Regions from separate parts of the Homo sapiens genome. Here region 1 is linked to region 2. Evidence: promoter capture Hi-C in human tissues and cell types (Jung and others, 2019). All regions are on one chromosome and are shown on one strand. Each heading gives the region's core, a stretch centred on a gene start or on the middle of the fragment in contact. The rest is flanking DNA. Distances are from core to core; before and after follow the strand shown. Region 1 overlaps ZKSCAN1 (zinc finger with KRAB and SCAN domains 1). Region 2 holds the start of CYP3A7 (cytochrome P450 family 3 subfamily A member 7).

Region 1 (3,788 bases), core at 154-2,653, 290 kb before region 2:
TGAGGCAGGAGAAACGCTTGAACCCAGGAGGTGGAGGTTGTAGTGAGCCGAGATTACGCCACTGCACTTCCTACCTGGGAGACAAGAAGTTAAACTCCGTCAAAAAAAAAAAAATCCTGACAAATCGAGGAAAAAACTGTACAATCTCCACTGTCACTTCATATATCAAGATTTGCAAACAGAAACCTCAAACAGGCCGACTCCACCCTCAGGGTGTTTGCTTGGAGTCAGAGTGATTTACCTGCAGGTTGACAGCAGGTTACGAAATGGAGCATTAACAGTGCCCAGCCCAGAGAGCTGAATGTTAGCAGAGTGCCAGGTGCCAGGCTTAAAGCAGTACACGCACCATCTTCTTTTGTCCCTACAACAGCCCTAGCAGGTCGGCCAAACTGTTAAGTGCTGTTTTACAAATGACATAACTGAGGGTTAGGTTTGCTCAGTAGTAGGTGGCTGCCTACTGGAGTCAATATTCAACCAAATTTGAAGCCCTGGGACCTACTTTTGTACCATCCAGCTACTTTTGCTATTTTTATGAGTGACTTGGGCAGTTAAATTGTGGTTTCCAAAGTACAAGATGATCCGCAAAGGATACAGAAAGAAAATAATTGGAATGTCTGTATCTTAAAAGAGAGAGAAATTAAGCTATAAATTGACACTAATACACTTACTTAGTCTGTGCTGACCTGTCACAGGTGTTGTTCATTTTAGACATTGTGATGTAGACTGGTTTATCTGAGACCAGTTATGTGAAATAATGGATTTCTAAATCTAGCTTTGGCTGGGCGCAGTGGCTCATGCCTATAATCCCAAAACTTTGGGAGGCCAAGGCGTGCGGATCACGAGGTCAGGAGATCGGGACCATCCTGGTCAACATGGTGAAACCCTGTCTCTACTAAAAATAGAAAAATTAGCTGGGCGCGGTGGCGGGCACCTGTAGTCCCAGCTACTTGGGAGGCTGAGGAAGGAGAATCACTTGAACCCAGGAGGCGGAGGTTGCAGTGAGCCGAGATCGCGCCACTGCACTCCATCCTGGCCACAGAGCGAGACTCTGTCATAAAAGAGACAAGCAGCTTTAAAGATTCTTGTGGCCAGATATGGTAGCTCATGCCTATAATTCCAGCCCTTTGGGAGGATGAGGCAGGAGGATGCTTGAAGCCAGAAGTTTGAGACCAGCCTGGGCAACATAGCAAGACCCTGTCCCTATGAAAAAGAAAAAAATTAGCTGGGCATGGGGACTGTGTCTGCAGTCACAGCTACTCAGGAGGCTAAGGTGGGAGGATTGCATGAAACCAGAAGTTTGAGGCTGCAGTCAGCTACGATCACGCCACTGCATTCCAGCCTGGGTGACAGAGCAAAGCCCTATCAGGAAAAGGAAAAAAAAAAAAAAAAAGATTCTTATAGAGAAACTGCAATTACAGGACACACTAATAATATAAACAGATGTGAACAAGAAGAAAATGGCACAGATGAAGCTTCTATCTAGAGTAAGGTTTTAGCCACATTAGGAGGTAAAAACCAATGTCAGTCTAAATCAAAGAAAAAGTCACCAATGAGTAATCAGCTTCTTTAAAGAAAGTGTGAAGAAAGGGCAATTACAGGAACAGCTGTATGAAATGGTTCCATTGTTATGTAATTTAACTGCCAAAAATGATGTCAAGTATCCAGGAAAAACCCATCTATGTTCACATTTTAGAAACTTGGGGCTGGGTGAGGTGGCTCATGCCTGTAATACCAGCACTTTGGGAGGCTGAGGCAGGGAGCAGGGGGCCACCTGCGGTCAGGAGTTCAAGACCAGCTTGGCCATCATCGTGAAACCCCGTCTCTACTAAAAATACAAAAAATTAGCTGGGCATGGTAGCAGGCGCCTGTAATCCCAGCTATTTGGGAGACTGAGGCAGGAGAATCGCTTGAACCCAGGAGGCTGAGGTTGCAGTGAACTGAGATCACGCCATTGCACTCCAGCCTGGGTAACAAAGTGAGACTCCATCTCAAAAAAAAAAAAAAAAAAAAAAGGAAAAAAAAAAGAAACTTGGAAATATTTTCTAACCTGTTTAAAAATCTTTCAAATGAAGAATTTCAGGTGGGTCTTAAGCCTATTTGTTAAAAATATAAAATGCCACCACCTGATTAGTTTGTAAGACTATACCCTGCATTTCAACAACAAAAATTCAGCATGGTTGATAGGTTGGATCAATCACAAGTTACTAAGCAGAACTGACACTGTGATTCTTCCATCTGAAGCTACAAATCTTTCTGAATTTATTCTTTTCACCTCTACAGCCATCAAAACTAAGCATCAAATTGAAGTTTTAGAAACAGACCATTAAACTGCTTTATCATGATGGGTTAAACCGAGTTTTAAACTAGCAAAAGCATTTTTAGTTTTATGGCTCTCACTAAACATATTCTTAATTTTGGTGAAAAAGGGATCATGTACATATAACAGCACAAAAATTATATATACATATATATTGAAACGGAGTCTTGCTCTATCGCCCAGGCTGGAGTGCAATGGCATGATCTCAGCTCACTGCAACATCCGCCTCTCGGGTTCAAGTAATTCTCCTGCCTCAGCCTCCTGAGTAGCTGGGATTACAGGCCATACTTATTTTTTTTAATCTAGTTCCATGAAGTCCAGCTTCCTTTCTTTGGTTCCCTGCCTTCATTTTCTCCCTTCTCTCCCACAATCCACCTTTCAGATTATTCTTTCTAAAACTCTACAGCCTTGCAGTTAATACTTTCCAGTGCCTGGTCCCAATTTTCCCTCAAGCTTCTTTTCCCATCAATCCCCCCATAAACCTTCCCTATGCAACAAAAGCCCTCTCATCAGTATTTCCTATATATGCCTTGTATTTTGACTGCCATCCTTTCCTCACATCACACTCCATGCCTGGGACTTCCCCCCGCAGTCCTCTCTGCCTTTTCAAATCCTACTTAACCTTTAAAGCTAGCTAAAACGCGACTTGCCTCTTATCACTGTTCAAGAACCCTCTCATAACTATAACAGTAAGAGCCAATGTTTACTGAGTGCTTTCTAGGTACCGGGTATTTAAGCATTTTCACTTGACCACATAACAATCTTAGCAGGTAGCTACACTTATCATCTCACTGTATAAAGAACTGAGAGGCTGAGCGCAGCGGCTCATGCCTGTCATCCCAGCACTTTGGGAGGCCAAGGCAGATAGATAACCTGAGGTCAGGAGTTCGAGACCAGCCTGGATAACATGGCAAAACCCCATCTCTACTAAAAATACAAAAATTAGCCAGGTGTGGTGGTGCAATGCCTGTAGTCCCAGCTACTCGGGAGGCTGAGGCAGGAGAGTTGCTTCAACCTGGGAGGCGGAGGCTGCAGTGAGCTGAGATTACACCACTGCACTCCAGTCTGGGCAACAGAGTGAGACTCCATCTCAAAAAAAAACAAAAGAAGAACTGAGATATACTGCCATTAAATAACTTACTCAAGGTCACACAGCAAGTATATGGTAGAGGCAGAATTTGAAATAAAAGTGATTCCCCAATGTAAACTCTTTAACCATTATACAAAATTTATCTTGTACCTGACATGTGGGGTATACAGATCCTAAAATGAAGGCCTATGAACGTGACAATGAAGAATCAATCAGGGCCAGGCACGGTAGCTCACGCCTGTAATCCCAGCACTTTGGGATGCCAAGGAGGGTCGATCACCTGAGCTGAGGAGCTCGGGACCAGCCTGGCCAACATGACGAAACCCCGTCTCTACTAAAAATACAAAAATTAGCTGGATGTGTGGCACATACCTGTAATCT
Region 2 (3,721 bases), core at 736-3,235:
TTCTACATCTGTAAACTGGGGATAGTAGCATGGCCCTATTTAATGTGCTCAGCGAAGCCACTGAAAGGAGACAGAAATGTACCAGAATTCCCTGGACTTTTATCCTACTTCTCCTGGGGATTGTCACCCACCTACCCGTGTCTGTCCTTTGTTGCTTTGACGCTGTCACTTCTTTTCTTAGGTACCTCTCTGTAGGGCTCCATTATTCCAGGGATTCCAGAGTTACAGCACATGCATACCTCCATCCAAGCATGTTTATTTGTCTCCTGCTTCACTAGGCTGTCCCCAAGGAACATGTGGCTCCCGGCACATACCTGGCACAACACTGCACATGACATTCACCCACTTGGCCTTGAATCTGACAAGGAATCTGGCATGATGTTCACCTGCTGAGGCCAGGTGCCGAGCAGCCCTGGAGGCTTAGGGGCCAGAGGGATGGGAAAAGGTGTCTTTCTGGGGTGAGTATCAGTTTCTGCAGGAGTGCTGAACCTGAGAAAGAATAAAGAGAGAAGGAAGTGAACAAGCACAGCTTAAACATCATCTGTTTCTACTGAGTTTTAACAACTCTGAGATTTTGTTTGTCATGGAATCCATTTCTCAGGCCAAGCAGACACAGAACTTGGGTGTGAGTGATGATAATGAGCTGATATAATTTTCACACCCTCATCACTGAGATCTCTCCCATCAGGAATGGGTCACAGGGCTCACAGGTGGCAGCAACTGTTATTACAGGCCTCATCTCTACCAGCTCCTGGCACCTGCTCTCCTCCCATTAGAAAATCCTCCACTTGTCAAAAAGGAAGCCATTTGCTTTGAATTCCAATTCCACCCTCAAGAGGCTGGGACCACCTCATTGGAGTCCTTGATGCTGTGTGACCTGCAGTGACCACTGCCCCATTGTTGCTGGCTGAGGTGGTTTGGGTCAACCTGGCCATCTGGGCAGCTGTTCTCTTCTCTTCTTTCTCCCCTACTGTTTCCAGACATGCAGTATTTCCAGAGAGAAGGGGCCACTCTTTGGCAAAGAACCTGTCTAACTTTCTATCTACGGCAGGACTTTTGAAAGCTACAGAGGAAGAAGCACAAATTGATGCTATTCCACTAAGCCATCAGCTCCATCTCATCCATGCCATGTCTCTTTTTTAGGGGTCCTCTTGCCAACAGAATCACAGAGGACAAATCTGAAAGTGCAGAGACAGCAGCTGAGGCACAGCCAAGAGCTCTGGCTGTATTAATGACCTAAGAAGATGGAGTGGTCACCAGAAAGTCAGAGGAAGTGACACACAGGGGCCCAGCAATCTCAGCCAAGTCAACTCCACCAGCCTTTCTGGTCCCCACTGTGTGTACAGCACCCTGATAGGGACCAGAGCCATGAGAGTGAGTAAGACCAGACTATGCCCTTGAGGAGCTCACCTCTGCTAAGGGAAACAGGCCTGGAAACACACAATGGTGGTAAAGAGGAAAGAAGACAATAGAACTGCATGAAGGGGATGGAAAGTGCCCAGGGGAGGAAATGGTTACTTCTGTGTGAGGGGGTTGGTGAGGAAAGACTCTAAGAGAAGGCTCTGTCTGGCTGGGTATGAAAGGATGTGTAGGAGTCTTCTAGGGGGCACAGGCACACTCCAGGCATAGGTAAAGATCTGTAGGCATGGCTTGTTGGGATGAGTTTCAAGTATTCTGGAATGAGGACAGCCATAGAGACAAGAGGAGAGTTAATAGATTTTATGCCAATGGCTCCACTTGAGTTTGTGATAAGAACCCAGAACCCTTGGACTCCCCAGTAACATTGATTGAGTTGTGTATGATTCTACATAGAATATTAACTCAATGGAGGTCAGTGAGTGGTGTGTGTGTGATTATTTGCCAACTGCCGAGGTGGAGAAGCCTCTTCCGACTGCAGGCAGAGCACGGGGGCCCTGCTACTGGCTGCAGCTCCAGCCCTGCCTCCTTCTCCAGCATATAAACAATCCAACAGCCTCACTGAATCACTGCTGTGCAGGGCAGGAAAGCTCCACACACACAGCCCAGCAAACAGCAGCACGCTGCTGAAAAAAAGACTCAGAGGAGAGAGATAAGGAAGGAAAGTAGTGATGGATCTCATCCCAAACTTGGCCGTGGAAACCTGGCTTCTCCTGGCTGTCAGCCTGATACTCCTCTATCTGTGAGTAACTGTTCAGGCTCCTCTTCTCTGTTTCCTTGGACTTGGGGTGCTAATCAGGCCTCTCTTTCCCTTATCTGTTTTGAATAGCAAAAAGGATGTTCAGGCTGGCCGTGGTGGCTCACACCTGTCATCCCAGAACTTTGGGATGCTGAGCAGGTGGACTGCCTGAGGTCAGGAGTTCAAGACCAGCCTGGCTAATATGGTGAAACCCCATCTCTACTAAAATTACAAAAATTAGCTGGGCATGGTAGTGCATAACTGTAGTCCCAGCTACTTGGGTGGCTGAGGCAGGAGAATTGCTTGAACCTGGGAGGCGGAGGTTGCAGTGAACTGAGATCATGCCACTGCACTCCAGCCTGGGTAACAGAGTGAGATTCCATCTCAAAAAAAAAAAAAGAGAAAAAAAAGAAAAAAAAAGATTTTCAAGGAGAAGTAGCTTAAGTGTTGGATGCTACAAACATATAGAGGTTATGATGGATGTTTTGCAGATCTATAAAGGAATAAATAAGCATCTCCCCCATTCATCTTTAGTGGAAAGAAGGGTTTAGGGACAGCATTGATTGAGGATAATCTAATAGACAATGGTTTGTACCCAGCTTACCAAACCAGAATTTGGATTTTACATTTTTCCCTTTAAGTTGCAGGAGAAGAGGGTGAATCTTCTCACCAGTGAGATCCTGGCATCCTAGAGCAGGTGGAGAGAAGAGTCACTCCCTACTGTGTGTACTGGAGGCTTCCCGCCTGTCACATTTTACTTCTAACTCAATTTCACAGTTATTAAGAGTAAGGAATCATGGTCACATGGAAACAGAAAATACAAACCTCGTTTTAATTCTTTCACAGAAAAGTTAGCAATTCAGTGAGTTGTGGTAACATAGTTTCCATCTACTGGCAATTTAACATGAATTGGTGTGGCTTAAATTCATCCTTTTTAAAGCCAGATTTTTTTGGAGATAGACTATTTCCAGCATGTTCCTTCTGAGTGATAAAAGAGGGCTATTAGTTCAGTATTTGTGACAATAAATGTGTATAAGATAACCTCACCTTTCCAGAATAATGTCAGGAATATGAGTCTAATGTACAAATATATATCTCTAGGACAAGACTGCATATGTCTTTTTAAAAATACTTTCCCAAGAGTTTATTTTAATACCCCCATTTCAAATACACCTGCTTAGCAGGTTATCCTAAACTCTCAGGGCTAGAAAGTAAGCAAGACTGTGAGCCAGTGATGATAGCAAAAGCATCCAGGTAGGATCAAGATGAAGTGAGAAAATATTCCTTACCCCTCAGGGTAGAACTCCAAATAGATATTCATGGGTCCTGGCCCCCTAGTGGAGGTCACTTGAAGGACAAACATGTTGGCATCTCATCTGCTTGAAGCCTGGACACAAGGGCACCATCAGTGTCACTCTGTGTGTGGCTGGCCATGTTGTGGGGCTGTCACTACAGATTCTGGCAGTCAGGCAGACAATACCTTAGCCTTAGACGATGCCGGTACAGCCCAGGATTCAGAAGCTATAGTGTAGACCATGCCCTTCTTAGGCCTATACAATTACATGC

Evidence for each region. Contacts are between HindIII fragments. The study calls those that stand out against the background at their distance.
Region 1: a contact is called between a fragment that was not itself captured here and the fragment with the promoter of CYP3A7 in region 2, in 3 of the 25 tissues and cell types used here (liver, mesendoderm cells and thymus).

Annotation. Positions count from the first base shown.
Region 1 is chr7:100,019,341-100,023,128 of GRCh38, reverse strand. The region is part of intron 1 of ZKSCAN1 (zinc finger with KRAB and SCAN domains 1); the gene reads right to left. Among named protein-coding and RNA genes, the nearest start is that of ZKSCAN1, 5.6 kb to the right of the region's middle. The HindIII fragment of the contact is 5,144 bases long and covers 1-3,788 here.
Region 2 is chr7:99,733,460-99,737,180 of GRCh38, reverse strand. It overlaps CYP3A7 (cytochrome P450 family 3 subfamily A member 7), which reads left to right and starts at 1,985. Exons shown (of 13, transcript NM_000765.5): 1 at 1,985-2,158. The coding sequence starts at 2,088. It overlaps CYP3A7-CYP3A51P (CYP3A7-CYP3A51P readthrough), which reads left to right and starts at 1,985. Exons shown (of 15, transcript NM_001256497.3): 1 at 1,985-2,158. The coding sequence starts at 2,088. It also overlaps a transcript of ZSCAN25 not described here. RefSeq lists enhancers at 517-528, 1-825, 1,810-1,840 and promoters at 1,846-2,088, 1-2,088. The HindIII fragment of the contact is 8,535 bases long and covers 1-3,721 here.